Regions from separate parts of the Homo sapiens genome. Here regions 1 and 3 are each linked to region 2. The links are contacts of gene promoters, found by promoter capture Hi-C in blood cells and fetal thymus (Javierre and others, 2016). All regions are on one chromosome and are shown on one strand. Each heading gives the region's core, a stretch centred on a gene start or on the middle of the fragment in contact. The rest is flanking DNA. Distances are from core to core; before and after follow the strand shown.

The links. The method cuts DNA at HindIII sites, captures the fragments that hold promoters and counts their contacts. A CHiCAGO score of 5 or more calls a contact.
Region 1: a contact is called between a fragment that was not itself captured here and the fragment with the promoter of SNX20 in region 2, in 1 of 17 cell types (total CD4 T cells). The highest score is 5.6, in total CD4 T cells.
Region 3: a contact is called between a fragment that was not itself captured here and the fragment with the promoter of SNX20 in region 2, in 8 of 17 cell types (activated CD4 T cells, total CD4 T cells, non-activated CD4 T cells and 5 more). The highest score is 13.3, in activated CD4 T cells.

Annotation. Positions count from the first base shown.
Region 1 is chr16:50,410,295-50,413,376 of GRCh38, forward strand. No RefSeq gene overlaps it. Among named protein-coding and RNA genes, the nearest start is that of LINC02178, 17 kb to the left of the region's middle. The HindIII fragment of the contact is 4,017 bases long and covers 1-3,082 here.
Region 2 is chr16:50,679,855-50,682,562 of GRCh38, forward strand. It overlaps SNX20 (sorting nexin 20), which reads right to left and starts at 1,458. Exons shown (of 4, transcript NM_182854.4): 1 at 1,336-1,458. The HindIII fragment of the contact is 15,976 bases long and covers 1-2,708 here.
Region 3 is chr16:50,330,449-50,333,412 of GRCh38, forward strand. All of the region lies in intron 8 of BRD7 (bromodomain containing 7), which reads right to left. Among named protein-coding and RNA genes, the nearest start is that of BRD7, 37 kb to the right of the region's middle. The HindIII fragment of the contact is 6,524 bases long and covers 1-2,964 here.

The DNA of each region.
Region 1 (3,082 bases), core at 377-2,876, 270 kb before region 2:
GATTCTGTTAGACGTGATAATAACATTGTGGAAAATATCCTTATTTTTTGGCAATGCATGCTAAGTATTACTGTTATGTTGTCTAAAATTTACTTTCAAACGGTTCAGCAAAAAAATTTGAATTAAGCAAATATGTTAAATCTAGATGAAAGTTTACTCTTTTCCTATTCTATTCTATTTTTCAGTATATTTCAAGCATGTCTTCAAAACCTTAAAAATAGAAGTATTCCAGTACATACGAAAACCTTTAAATTTCTAAATAGTCTGGTCATACATAGCAAATATATGGGGCTGGTGACTGATTTGGGAAAAAACAGGCTATGCTATAAAATGCTGAGTTTATGGCCCCCACAGCGACAGTAACCTGAGGGAGGTGTGGGTGGTGGAGTCTGGGTGTGGTGGGCCATGGCTTTGCCACAGCTCATGAGACTCTCCATGCTGGTGGCCGGCAGCTCCTATGGGAGCCATTGCCGAGGTTTATGGTTGGGTTTACGAAATCCATTCAATACTTTGGCACTTGCACAAAAAATACATGTGTAAAGGTGAGTGTGCCCTTGGAAAATCTTTTTTTTTTTTTTTTTTTTAAACAAACCAACAAACAAGGCCACCAGGCCTATAAAATCCAGGTGAAGTCTACACATCGTGTCTCACCTCTCCCCTAGCCTCCTGATTTTACTGTCACTTCCCCTGAGGTTGAGGCCAACCATGGCTTGCCCTTAGATTCAGAAGCTGTGATCCTTGACCTTGACTGCTAAGAAAGGCATGTGCGACCTGGAACAAATTACTTGCCTCCTGGTACATTGGATTTCTCATCAGAAAACTGAGATGACAAAATCTCTCTTCAAGGTTTTGGGTTTTAGGTGAAATTCACATAACATAAGTTAACCATTTTAAAGCAAACAATTCAGTAGCACTTAGAACATTCACAAGGTTGTGCAATCATCACCACCCTCCATCTGTGGAATCTTTGCATCTTCCCAAACGGAAACTCTGTATCCATTAAACAATGACTCCCTATTTCCCTCTCAGTCTAGCCCCTGAAAAACCATCTTTCTACTTTCCATTTCTATGGAATTACTTACCCTGGCTATTTCCTATAAATGGAATAATATAATATATGATCTTTTTTGTGTTTGGCTTCTGTCTCTTAACATAATGCTTTCAAGGTTCACCTATGTTGTAGCATGTGTGAGTTCTTAGCTCCTTGTTATGGCTGAACAACATTACTTGTATAATACCACAATTTGCTTATCCATTTGCTTGTTAATGGACATTTGGGTTGTTTCCACCCCTTGACTATTGTGAATAGCAGTGCTATGAACATGCATATATAAGTACTTTTTTGAATCCTTGATTTCAATGTTGGGTGTGTATCTAAGAACGTAATAGATGTCATATAGTAATTCTATGTTTAACTTTTTGAAGAGCTGCCAAACTATTTTCCACAGTAACCAAAACATTTCACATTCCTGCCAGCAAAATTTGAGGGTTTCATATTCTCTACATCTTCACCAATACTTGTTATTTTCTATTTTTTTGAATGTAGCCATCCTAGTGGGTGTGAAGTGGTATCTCATTGTGGTTTTGACTTCCACTGCCCTAAAAATTAATGATGTTGAACATCCTTTCATGTGATTATTGGCCATTTGAATATCTTTTTTTTTTTTTTTTTGAGACAGAGTCTCTCTTTGTCACCCAGGCTGGAGTGCAGTGCCACAATCTCAGCTCACTGCAACCTCTGCCTCCCGGGTTCAAGCAATTCTTCTGCCTCAGCCTCCCAAGTAGCTGGAACTACAGGTGTGTACCACCATGCCTGGCTAATTTTTGTAAGTGCTGGGATTATATGCTTGAGCCACCACACCCAGATTCATTTGCATATCTTCTTTGAAGAAATGTCTATTCAAGTTCTTTGCCCTTTTTTTGAATTAGGTTGTTTGTTTTCTTGTGTGTTGAGTTCTAGGCATTCTTTATATATTCTAGATACTAATCCCTTATCAGATATATGATTTGCAAGAATTTCCTTCAATTTTGTGTGTTACCTTTTTACTCTCTCACTCTTTTTTTTCTTTTTGAGACAGGGTCTTGTTCTGTCACTCAGGCTAGAGTACAATGGCGTGATCATGGCTCACTGCAGCCTCGACCTCCTGGGCTCAAGAGATCCTCCTGCCTCAGCCTCCTGAGTAGTTGGGACTGTAGGCATGTGCCACCACACCCAGCTAATTTTTTTTTTTTTTAGAGATGGGGTCTCACTATGTTGCCCAGGCTGGTCTTGAATTCTTGGGCTCAAGTAGTCCTTCTACCTCAGCCTCCCAAACTGTTTGAGATTACAGGCGTGAGCCACCACACCTGGCACACTCTCTTGATAGTGTCTTTTGGTGCACAAAAGTTTTAAAAGTTGACAAAGTTCAATGTATGTATTTTTGTTGTTGTTTCCTTTACTTTTGGTGTCTTTTCTAAGACTCTATTGGCAAATACAAGGTCATGAGTATTTATCCCCATGTTTACCATGGGGATTACAATTAACATCCTAAATATATAAAAACTTAGTTGGAATTAATTCCTACTTAGTTTCAATAGCATACAAAAACTCTGTTCCTATGTACCTCAGTCCATTCCCTTTTAAAGTCATAAATTACATCTTTATACACTGTTTGCCTATTAATATAGAATTTTAATTGTTGTTTTAGGCATTTGTCTTATAAATAAGTTAGAAAACAAAAAGTGGAGTTAGAAACCAAAAATATAATTACACTGGCTTTTATATTTATCTATGTAATTATTTTTACCAGAATTCCCAATTTCTTCATATGAATTTGAGTTACTGTCTAGTGTCTTTTCAGCCAGAAAGGCTCCCTTTAGCATTTCTTTTAGGCCAAGTCTAGTAGTGACAAACTCTCTCAGCTTTTTTAAAATCTGGGAATGTTTTAATTTCTCCTTTTAAATTGCTTTTGTTTGATTGACTTTGTTTATTTTGATTGTGGTAAAATATAGGTAACAAAATTTACTGTTATGGCCGGCTGCAGTGGCTCACACCTGTAATCCCAGGACTTTGGGAGGCTGAGGCGGGCGGATCACAAGGTCA
Region 2 (2,708 bases), core at 208-2,707:
TGTAAAATGGGTGATGGCGAGTGGCCTTGGCCTCAGGGGCCCCAGCCTTTGCAGATCTGCTTTCATGACCAGGCAGCTGGCTCCAGGTCAGAAGCAGGGCACTATTGGCCCAGAGACCCTGTAAGACCCTAGAAATGATGCCTCGGCTTGACACTCCAGTAAAGACTGAGAAAGCTGATTATAAAACCAGGCCTTAGAATAAAATCAAATTCAGCAGCCACAGTCAGCTCCCTTATGGTTGTCTCTTACAGGTTTCATTGGGAGTCACCCATTTAAAGAGGAGGGGGAAGGAAAGAGTTGTGCACTGGTGTATCCATGGGGCCTTGGGTAGCTTCCCATCCCTCTCCAGGCCTCAGTTTCCTCATCTGTGAAATGGGAAAGCAATCCTGTCACTCTAAAAGCTCTCTGGGGATAGCCACATAGACGGTTCCATGGCCCTTTCCTTCCCTCTCCTCACCCTCTGTAGCAAAGATTTCTTGACTTTATAACAAAATACTAAAAGTGTTGTTGCTGTTGGCCTGGGGGCCTGTAGTTGGCCCAGGGGACAGAGCAGCTTCCCAGCCTCCTCTGCCTTCCAGCCGTGTGTGCACAGACAGTCATTCTCCTCCTCCTGTCCCCAGGTGTCCTAACCACCCCCTCTCCAAGAGCTGACTGCCAAGTCCAGTCCTTCTTCTGCTGGGCACACAGAGGCCACACTATCTTTCTGAGGGCCTGCGGAGGACTTTTCATGGGGGATGAGCCTCTAGGGGGTGAAATAAAGCACATGGCCCACGCTGGGAGACAGAGATCCCAGGATGTTGGATGTGTGGCTGCCTCTCTTGGGGAAAGGGTGGGTACCCTCCAACAACTGGACGCTCACCTGAGAAGCCTTGCCAAAGCCAGGGGCTCCCAACCCAGTGTGTGTAAGAATCCCCTGGTGGGGTGGGGGTGGGATCCCAGGGGCTTGTCCAAGAGCAGGTTTCCTGGCTGCTAACATAGGAAGGTGCCATTGAACAGGCCTGGATTCTGCATTTTCCATGAGTCCTCTAAGGCTGTGCTGAGGCAGGGGTTCCCTGACACTGTTCTTTTGAGAAACACAGGTGTGGTGACTTATTCTCCAGGCCCAAGATGGGTTGTACAAGCGCCTAGCATTTCAAAAGGAATGGAGGTGATGGAAGGTCCAGGAGCTGTCCCTTCCTCTGCCTCAGTGTGCTAAGGAGAGCTCCAGACACAGTGGCTGTCACTAACTCTTCCCCCTCCCACCCTGCCCCCAGCAGGTGCCAGGCAGGGCCCCAGGAGAAGGGGACTCAGGCCACAGCAGGCAGAGGACAGCTGAGCTTGGGATCAAATACTGACCTCCAGTCTCCAGGGCTGTGTGTGTCCAGGGGTCCGGGAGGAGTGTCATATGGCCCCTTCGAGCTCTTGGTTCTCAGCTCCGGCGACAAGCCGAGGGGCTGCCACTTTCTAAGTTCCCCGTTTGAAAACAGGAAACAGGCTGTGTGACCTGCTTCTGATCGCCCCAGCCCATTGGCTGGTGAAACATGGTATATTGAACTCAACTGCCAGCCTGCCAGCTGTACCCACCTCTTCTTCCGGGTAGCGCAGGGAAGGGCAAGGCGGTGTGGGGCCAGCCCTGTGGGATTTAGCTCAGCCTCACTTTCCCTGCCGCCTTGCAGAGGTCTGGCTGTCCTTCGAGTCCCCGTTGATCTCTGGAATTCAGGCATTAGCTCCCAGAGCCCTTTAACATTCATTATTCTACTCTATGAGCTAGGCATGATGGGGGCCGTCATGCCCCTTGAACAGATGGGAAAACCGAGGCTTGGATCACAGAGCTGGTGGGACACAGAGCCAGTGACTGACATAGAAGAGCAGTGGGGTAGAATTACAGTTCCATCTGGTGCCTTTTCTCTGAGCAAAGCTGTATCCATCACCACCAACAGAAAGTCCCAGGGAAGCGAAACCCCAGGGCAGTGTGGTGTGATTCATGCCCACCCATCTTTGTGGCCTTGAAGGCAAGAAACAGAAATCAGACAAAAAAAAAAAAAATAGAACTTTGCTGGCTCGCCCAGAAGTTTGCCATGTGTTTTTTTTTGAGCCATGATTCCCTTCCTCCCTATTAGAGGCAGTCACAGTCCTGATTCAGATGGGGGTTACTTCTTGGCTTTTCCTTAGAAATTTACCACCTATGAGATCCCCAAACAATTCAGTTTCATTTTACTCATCTGTGAATCTTATATAAATTGAACCATGCATACTGTGTGTATTCTCCAGTGCCTTGCTTCTTTCATGCAACATTTATGGGTATAAGATTCACTGATGCATTTCTGTGTAGATACTTTTTTTCATTTCCATTGTTGTGTTGCTACATTATTATTATTATTTATTTTACTTTAAGTTCTGGGATACCAGTGTAGAACCTGCAGGTTTGTTACATAGGTATATATGTGCCGTGGTGGTTTGCTGTACCTATCAACCCATCATCTAGGTTTTAAGCCCTGCATGCATTAGGTATTTGTCTTAATGCTCTCCTTCCCCCTGGCCCCCACCCCTGACAGGCCCCAGCGTGTGATGTTCCCCTCCCTGTGTCCATGTGTTCTCACTGTTCAACTCCCACTTATGAGTGAGAACATGCTGTGTTTGGTTTTCTGTTGCTTCATTATTTAAATACATCACCATTTGTCATTTTTTGTTTTGTCTTTTGATGCACACTTGGGTTGTTCCTAGGGTGG
Region 3 (2,964 bases), core at 148-2,647, 350 kb before region 2:
AGGTAATGGTGTTTAGGTATAGCTTCTGTGCCTCTGAGATGTAAATTTTCTACCTTGTTTCGTCTACTTTGTTATGACTTTGGAAATGACTGATAGTCTAAGAGGGGGAGAGAAAGTGAAAACTGGCAAATGAAGAATCTTATAAATCTACAAGATCTGCTTCTGTGTGTTTGTATGTCTATATATGTGTCATGTGTATGTGATGTATCACTACCAAAATATACGAAAGAGCTCTAATCAACTGACCAAAGAAAAGTAAGTGCTTAAATCAATTATTTTATTTAAAAAAAACAGAATTTCGCTCAAATGCCCTTTAGTTCACACAACTTTAGTAATCCTTGGTAAATAAAACTAGTTTCAAAATTCTCTTCAGTAATTTTAAATCTTAAAGTCATGTTATATTAAGTAATCTTAGGGTTTTCACTTGAAATTAGGGTTACTAAAAGTTAAAATAGTTAATATGTTATTAAAATTACTAGATATAAGAGAAACAATTCTATATACATAGTATATAAAGAAAAATGTATTTTTGGTAAAGATACAATATCAATTTACAAAAATCAGTAGCATTTCTATAAACCAATAATGTTCAAGCTGAGCACCAATTCAAGAATGCAATCCTATTCACAACAGCCACAGAAAAAATAAAATACCTAAGAATATATGTAAAGAGGTGAAAGATCTCTAGAAGAACTAAAAAACACTGCTGAAAGAAATCATATATGACACAAATGGAAAAACATCCCATGCTCATGGAATAATCAATATTGTTAAAACGTCCATACTGTCTAAAGCAATCTACAGATTCAATGCTATTCCTATCAAATTCCCAACATCATTCTTCACAGATTCAGAAAAAACTATTCTAAAATTCACATGGAACCAAAAAGGAGCCTGAAGTGCCAAAGCAATTCTAAGCAAAAAGAACAAAGTCAGAGGCATCACATTACCCAATTTCAAACTATACTACAGGCTGGGCACGGTGGCTCATGTCTGTAATCCTAGCACTTTGGGAGGCTGAGTTGGGTGGATTGCTTGAGTTCAGGAGTTTGAGACCTGCCTGGGCAATATGGTGAAACCTCATTTCTACAAAAAATACAAAAATTAGCCGGACATGGTGTCACGCACCTGTACTTTCAGCCACTTGGAAGGCTGAGGCAGGAGAATTGCTTGAGCTCCCAAGGTGGAGGCTGTAGTGAGCCAAGATTGTGCCACTGCACACTCCAGCCTGGGCGACAGAGTGACACCCTGTCTCAAAATCAAACCAAACCAAACAAAAGCTCCCATAAAACTACAAGGCTACAATAACCAAAACAGCATGATACTGATAAAAATAAACAAAATAACTCACAGACCAATGGAACAGAATAGAGAACCCAGAAATAAAGCCACATACATACAACCGACTGATCTTTGACAAAGTCGACAAAAATAAACAAAGTAGAAAGACCACTCAATAAATGGCGCTAAGAAAACTGGCTAACCATGTGCAGAAGAATGAAACTGAACTCCTATCTCTCACAATATACAAACATTAACTCCAAATGGATTAAACACTTAAATGTACGACCTCAAATTATAAAAATCCTAGAATAAAACCTTGGAAATACTCTTCTGGACATGGGCCTCGGCAAAGAATTTTCTATGTTCTCAAAAGCAAAAGTGACAAAAACAAAAATTCACAAGTGGGACCTAATTAAACTACAGAGCTTCTGAACAGCCAAAGAAACTATCAACAGAGTAAAGAAACATCCCGCAGAACGGGAGAAAATATGTGTGAACTACGCATCCAATAAAGGACTAACTACGCATCCAATAAAGGACTAATACCCAGTATCTATAAGGAACTTAAATCAACAAGAAACAAACAAATAGCCCCATTAAAAACTAGGCAAAGGACATGAACAGACACCACTCAAAAGAAGACATACAAGCAGCCAACAAACATATGAGAAAATGCTCAGCATCACTAATCATTGGAGAAATGCAAATCAAAACCACAATAAGATACCATATTATATCATTACTAAAAACTCAAAAAATAAGAGATGCTGGCAAGGTTGTGGAGAAAAGGGAATGCTCACTGTTGGTGAGAATGTAAATTAGTTCAGCTCCTGTGGAAAGCAGTTTGGAGATTTCCCAAAGAACTAAAAATAGAATTACAATTTGACCCAGCAATCCTAGGTATGTACCAAAGGAAAATAAATCATTTTACTCAAAAGACACATGCATTTGTATGTTTACTGCAGCACTGTGCACAACAAAGACACAGAATCAACCTAGGTGCCCACCAACAAAGGACTAGGTAAAGAAAATGCGGTACACACACACACCATGGAATACTACACAGCCATAAAAAAGAATCAAATCATGTCCCCTGCAACGACATGGATGAAGACGGAGGCCACTATCCTAAACAAATTAATGCAGAAACAGAAAAACAAATATTGCCATGTTCTCACTTAAAAGTAGGAGCTAAATACTGGTGCACACAGACACAAAGATGGGAAGAACAGACACTGGAAATGCTAAAAGGGGGCAGGGAGGGAAGGGGGCAAGGGTTCAGAAACTTCCTACTGGGTACTATGTTCACTATTTGGGTGATGGGTTCAAGAGAAGCTCAAATCTCAGCATCATGCAATATACCCACGTAACAAAATGGTGTATGTACCCCTTGAATCTAAAATTAAATAAAACCAACATGCTAAACAATATGATTTCAAAAGACCAGAATACAAATGTTTTCCTGTAAATTTAAATTCTGTAGTTCATGTTCCAATTTTAGAACATATTATAACTTCATTTTTTAAAAATCCAGTAAAAGAGGGTAAGATTAATCATGTACTTTACAAATGAACACAGATGGTCCTCAACTTACAATGGAGTTACATCCAACACGCCCACTGTAAGTTGAAAATATCATGAGTTGAAAATGCATTTAACACCCTGATAAACCCATTGTAG